Linked DNA regions of Homo sapiens: region 1 is linked to region 2. Evidence: promoter capture Hi-C in 16 types of primary human blood cells and fetal thymus (Javierre and others, 2016). All regions are on one chromosome and are shown on one strand. Each heading gives the region's core, a stretch centred on a gene start or on the middle of the fragment in contact. The rest is flanking DNA. Distances are from core to core; before and after follow the strand shown.

The links. Contacts are between HindIII fragments. The CHiCAGO score rates a contact against its expected background, and 5 or more counts as called.
Region 1: a contact is called between a fragment that was not itself captured here and the fragment with the promoter of GP6 in region 2, in 1 of 17 cell types (M2 macrophages). The highest score is 5.4, in M2 macrophages.

What each region holds. Positions count from the first base shown.
Region 1 is chr19:54,869,345-54,872,309 of GRCh38, forward strand. No RefSeq gene overlaps it. Among named protein-coding and RNA genes, the nearest start is that of FCAR, 3.4 kb to the right of the region's middle. The HindIII fragment of the contact is 5,393 bases long and covers 1-2,965 here.
Region 2 is chr19:55,036,782-55,039,517 of GRCh38, forward strand. GP6 (glycoprotein VI platelet) reads right to left here and starts at 1,483. Exons shown (of 8, transcript NM_016363.5): 1 at 1,422-1,483. The coding sequence starts at 1,455. All of the region lies in intron 2 of GP6-AS1 (GP6 antisense RNA 1), which reads left to right. It also overlaps a transcript of RDH13 not described here. The HindIII fragment of the contact is 26,016 bases long and covers 1-2,736 here.

The sequences.
Region 1 (2,965 bases), core at 71-2,570, 170 kb before region 2:
TGAGCCACCACGCCCGGCTGGGAGAGTAGATCTTAAGGGTCCTCACCACAAAAAAAAAAAAAAGAAAGAAAGAAAAAGAAACCATAGGCCGGGCGCGGTGGCTCACGCCTGTAATCCCAGCACTTTGGGAGGCCAAGACGGGCAGATCACTTGAGGTCAGGAGTTCAAGACCAGCATGGCCAACATGGTGAAACCCTGTCTCTACTAAAAATGCAAACATTAGCCAGGCGTGGTGACACAAGCCTGTAATCCCAGCTACTCAGGAGGCTGAGGCACGAGAATTGCTGGAACCTGGGAGCGGAGGTTGCAGTGAGCCAAGATGGCACCACTGCACTCTAGCCTGGGGGACAGAGTAAGACTTCCTCTCAAAAAAAAAAAAAAAAAAAAAACAATAACCCTGCGAGATGATGGATATAACTAGCTTGACTATGATGATCATGTCACCATGTATACATACATCAAAACATCAAGTGTAATACACCTTAAATATATACAATTTCCATTTGTCAATCATATCTCAATAAAGCTAAAAGAAACCTCTAAGTTTCAACTTTATTTTCAGAAAGCTGTGCCATGCTTACCTCAGTGCCTAAGTATACTCTAATTCATGGAAATGGCCTTTAAAACTGCAGAGAGTGGCTGGGTGCAGTGGCTCACGCCTATAATCCCAGCACTTTGGGAGGCGGAGGTGGGCAGATCACGAGGTCAGGAGTTCGAGATCAGCCTGGCCAACATGGTGAAACTCTGTCTCTACTAAAAATACAAAAAATAGCTGGGCATGGTGGCAGGTGCCTGTAAATCTGAGATACTCAGGAGGCTGAGACAGGAGAATCGTTTGAACTGGGGAGGCAGAGGTTGCAGTGAGCCGAGATCCTGCCATTGCACTCCAGCCTGGGCGACAGGGTGAGACTCCATCTCAAAAAAAAAAAAAATACTGCAGAGAGTTAAGGCCCTCACTGGACACTCTCCGGTACCTCTGAGGTCAGTGGATAGAGAAGCAGCTCCCCTTCTTCTTCCTCGAAACAAAGGCCTCCTTCCTTCTTAGGTGTTTGAGACAAATTCTCCACACAGGTGCAGCTGAGTGCTGTAAAGTCCCACTGAGAGTTGAAGGTCCCCACTGCCAGTCACAGTTCGGTCCCACTGAGGGTTGAAGGTCCCCACTGCCAGTCACAGTTTGGTCCCATTGAGGGTTGAGAGTCTCCACTGCCAGTCACAGTTTGGTCCCATTGAGGGTTGAGAGTCTCCACTGCCAGTCAGTTTGGGCTTATTAGGGTTTATGCTGTGCACGGAGAATGGAACCTACCAATCAACTCTTAGTGACCAGTTAGACAGATTCAAGGCAAATTTCCCTGCTGGGAAATCCCAAATCCCAAAATATGCAGAGACCAATAGATGCCTCAATTCTTCCGTGTCTCCGTCTAAATCCTTGGGTCACTGTGACTCCTGTAGTTATGTGGCTTGTAATTCCTTGGGCCGTAGAATGGCTATGATAGGCCCTGTGCTAAGGGGACTGGTGACAGTTGAGACAGGAACATGGAAGCTATAGTAGTCAGGGTTCTCCAGAAAAAAAAATAATCAACACTAATAATGATAGATATATAGATAATGATTGATAGACAAATAATGATAGATATATAATGATATCACAAATAATGATAGACATATAGTTGGATAATGACAGATATATAATGATTGATACACAGATAGGGTATTTATATATTGGCTTATGCAACTATGTAGACTGACAGGTCCCATGATCTGCCATCTGCAAGCTGGAGACCCAGGGGAGTCCACGTGTAGTTCCAGTCTACGTGCAAAAGTCTGAGAACCAGTAGAGTTAGTGGTATACGTAACAGTCCAAAAGCTAGCAGGCTCATGCCGGGCATGATGGCTCACGCCTGTAATCCCAACACTTTGGGAGACCAAGGCAGGCAGATCACCTGAGGTCAGAGTTCAAGACCAGCCCGGCCAACATGGTGAAACCCCATCTTTACTAAAAATACAAAAATTAGCCGGGCATAGTGGCATTCGCTTGTAATCCCAGCTACTCAGAGGCTGAGGTACGAGAATTGCTTGAACCCAAGAGGTGAAGGTTGCAGTGAGCCGAGATCATGCCACAGCACTCCAGCCTGGGTGACAGAGTGAGACTCTATCTCAAAAAAACAAACAAACAAAAAAAGCTGGCAGGCTTAACATCTAAAGAGTCAATGTTTTAGTGAGAGTTCAAGAGCCAGAAAAGACTGATGTCCAGGCAAAAGGAACTTCATCTTACATTACCAGTTCAATGTTTTGTTCTATTCAGGTCCCACCTGATTGAATGAGGCCGACTCACATTAGGGAGAGCAATCTGCTTTATAAATTACACTAATTCCATTGATAATCTCATTCAGCAACACCCCCACAGACACACACAGAATAATGTTTAACCAAATATCTCAGCACCCCATGGCTACGTTACCATTCCTGTTCCACAAAAGGAGGAAACAAAAGAACAAAACCACACCAAATGTTGTGGTAAGTTGACAAAATCTGTTCCAGCCCATTAGTAAATATTGGCCACTGAAGTTCCTGAAATTCAACAATTAGTAAGTATCTCTCTCCCAATAGAAAGCCACGTCATTTGTAAACCATAACAATAGCTTTTGTTTTTTTGAGACACAGTCTCGCTCTGTGTTGCCCAGGCTGGAGTGCAGTGATCTTGGCTCACTGCAACCTCTGCCTCCTGGGTTCAAGTGGCTCTCCTGCCTCAGCCTTCCGAGTAGCTGGAATTACAGGCACCCGCCACCACACCCAAGTAATTTTTTATATTTTTAGTAGAGACTGGGTTTCACCACATTGACCAGGCTGGTCTTAAATTCCTGAACTCAAGTGATTCACCTGCCTTGGCCTCCCAAAGTGCTGGGATTACAGGCATGAGCTACTGCACCCAGCCAACAATAGTATTTTTAATTAGGTCATCCTGCCT
Region 2 (2,736 bases), core at 233-2,732:
GCGGGTGGAACCTGAAGTAAGGAGCTTGAGACCAGCCTGGCCAACATGGTGAAACCCCGCCCCTACTAAAAATACAATAATTAGCCAGACCTGGTGGCAGATGCCTGTAATCCCAACTATTCGGGAGGCTGAGGCAGGAGAATCACTTGGACCCGGGAGGCAGAGTTTGCAGTGAGCTGAGATCATGCCATTGCATTCCAGCCTGAGCGACCGACTGAGCGAGACTCCATCTCAAAAAACAAACAAAAAGAAAAAAAGAATACATCCATGGATGGATAATGAATGAGAGGTTGTTTATATTCACAGTTAACCCTCTCATCTCCAGTAATGCAACCATCTTCTTCCTGCTTAGCCTTTTGGAGATGCTGTCCCTTTAGTGGTCAAATTCTGAAGAAATCAGGAAATAATGCATTCGACATGCCCAGCACAAGTGAAGATCAGGCAGCAGAAATGCATTCGACCTGCCACCCATCCATCAGGAGACTATTTACTCCACTACTGTAGGGGATACTGACAAATTAAATCCATACCTAGTCCAGATATCAATTCCACAATTTTTTTTTTTTTTTTTTTGAGACGGAGTTTCGCTCTTGTTGCCCAGGCCAGAGTGCAATGGTGTGATCTTGGCTCACCGCAACCTCCACCTCCCAGGTTCAAGCGATTCTCCTGCCTTAGCCTCCAGAGTAGCTGGGATTACAGGCATGTGCCACCACACCCGGCTAATTTTGTATTTTTAGTAGAGATGGGGTTTCTCCATGTTGGTCAGGCTGGTCTCAAACTCCCGACCTCAGATGGCCCACCCGCCTCGGCCTCCCAAAGTGTGTAAGCCATGGCACTCAGCCTTTTTTTTTTTTTTTTTTTTTTTTTTTGAGATGGAGGCTCTCTCTGTTGCCCAGGCTGGAGTGCAATGCCTGACCTCAGCTCACTGCAACTTCTGCCTCCCAGTTTCAAGCAATTCTCCCACCTCAGCCTCCCACGTAGCTGGGATTACAAGCACCCGCCATCACGCCCGGCTAATTTTTGTAGAGATGGGGTTTCACCATGTTGACCAGGCTGGTCTTGAACTCCTGACCTCAGGTGATCCACCCACCTCGGCCTCCCAAGGTTGAGATTACAGGCGTGAGCCACTGTGCCTGGCCCACATTTTTTAAAAAAGGGGCAACTGCAGTGTAGTAGAACAAAGTTGTGACCAATGCTAGGATACTCTGTTCATTTCCTGACCCAGCCATGAATACACTGGAATAACTCATGCAAAATGCCAGCTCGCTGGCCCCCCGTTTCCCCACCCAACAAATGAAGGGGCTCTTACAGGTTCCTTTTTGTCCTGAAATTCATCACCAATGCAAATTTCTTAAAAATCCTTTGTCTGGCAGTCCATGCCTGTCCTTCAGCATTTCCCAGATCTGACCCTCAGGACTCACCAAGACAGAAGAGGGCGGTCGGGGATGGAGACATGGTTCCTCAGCCCTGTCCTGAGCTCTGTGGCCAGGGAGGGAAGTGGTGGGAGCCTGGGGCACAGGCTCAGGATGTGATGAGGATGAAGAATGCTCTCCTCCCTTCCTCCACCAGCCCCGGCCTTTCCTAATTGAGACTCATCGAGCCGTAGCCGGCTCCTCAGTACAGTGACTTGCACACAAGCTCCAAGGAGCCGCGCTTATCTCCTCTGGCCAGCCTGGCGTTGCACCGTTTGTCCGCCTGCTGGGGCCTGGTCTGTGTTCCCGTGCTCCCATAAACTCCCTGATGTCACTAGGAAAATACGCATCAAAACCACAGTGAGATATGACTTCACACCTTCTGGAATGGCTGTATTTTTTTTTTTTCTTTTGAGACAAAGTCTCGTTCTTTTTGCCCAGGTTGGAGTGCAGTGGCGCCATCTCGGCCCACTACAACCTCCACCTCCCAGGTTCAAGCGATTCTCCTGCCTCAGCCTCCCAAGTGGCTGGGATTATAGGTATGTACCACACCAGGCTAATTTTTGTATTTTTAGTAGAGATGGGGTTTCACTGTGTTGGCCAGGCTGGTCTTGAACTCCTGACCTCAGTTGATCCACCTGCCTCGGTCTCCCAAAGTGCTGGGATTACAGGCATGAGCCACTGCACCCGACCGGCTATAATTTTTTTTAATGGAAAACAGCAGATATTGGTGAGTATGCAGAGAAATTGAACTGCGCGTGCATTGCTGGCAGGGACGTAACATGGCGCCCCTGCTGTGGAAAACAGTTCCAGCAGCTCCTCCAGAAGTTAAACGTGGGATTGCCATAAAATCCAGCAATTCCACTTCGGGGTACACACCTAAAAGAACTGAAAACAGGGTCTCTAACATATTTGTACACAGTGTTCATAGCAGCTTTATTCACAATAGCCAAAAGGTGAAACCACCCACATGTCCATCAACAACAATGGATAAACAACATGTGGTATATACACACAAGGTAATATCAACCAGCCTTAACTAAAAGAATAAAAATCAGCCAGGCACAGTGGCTCACGCCTGTAATCCCAGCACTTTGGGAGGCCGAGGCGGGCGGATCACCTGAGGTCAGGAGTCCGAGACCAGCCTGGTTAACATGGTGAAACCCCATCTCTACTAAAAATACAAAAATTAGCTGGGCGTTAAATTAGCCGGGCATGGTGGCAGGTGCCTGTAATCCCAGCTACTTGGGAGACGGAGGCATGAGAATCGCTTGAACCTGGGAGGCAGAGATTGCGGTAAGCCGAGATCGCACCACTGCACTCC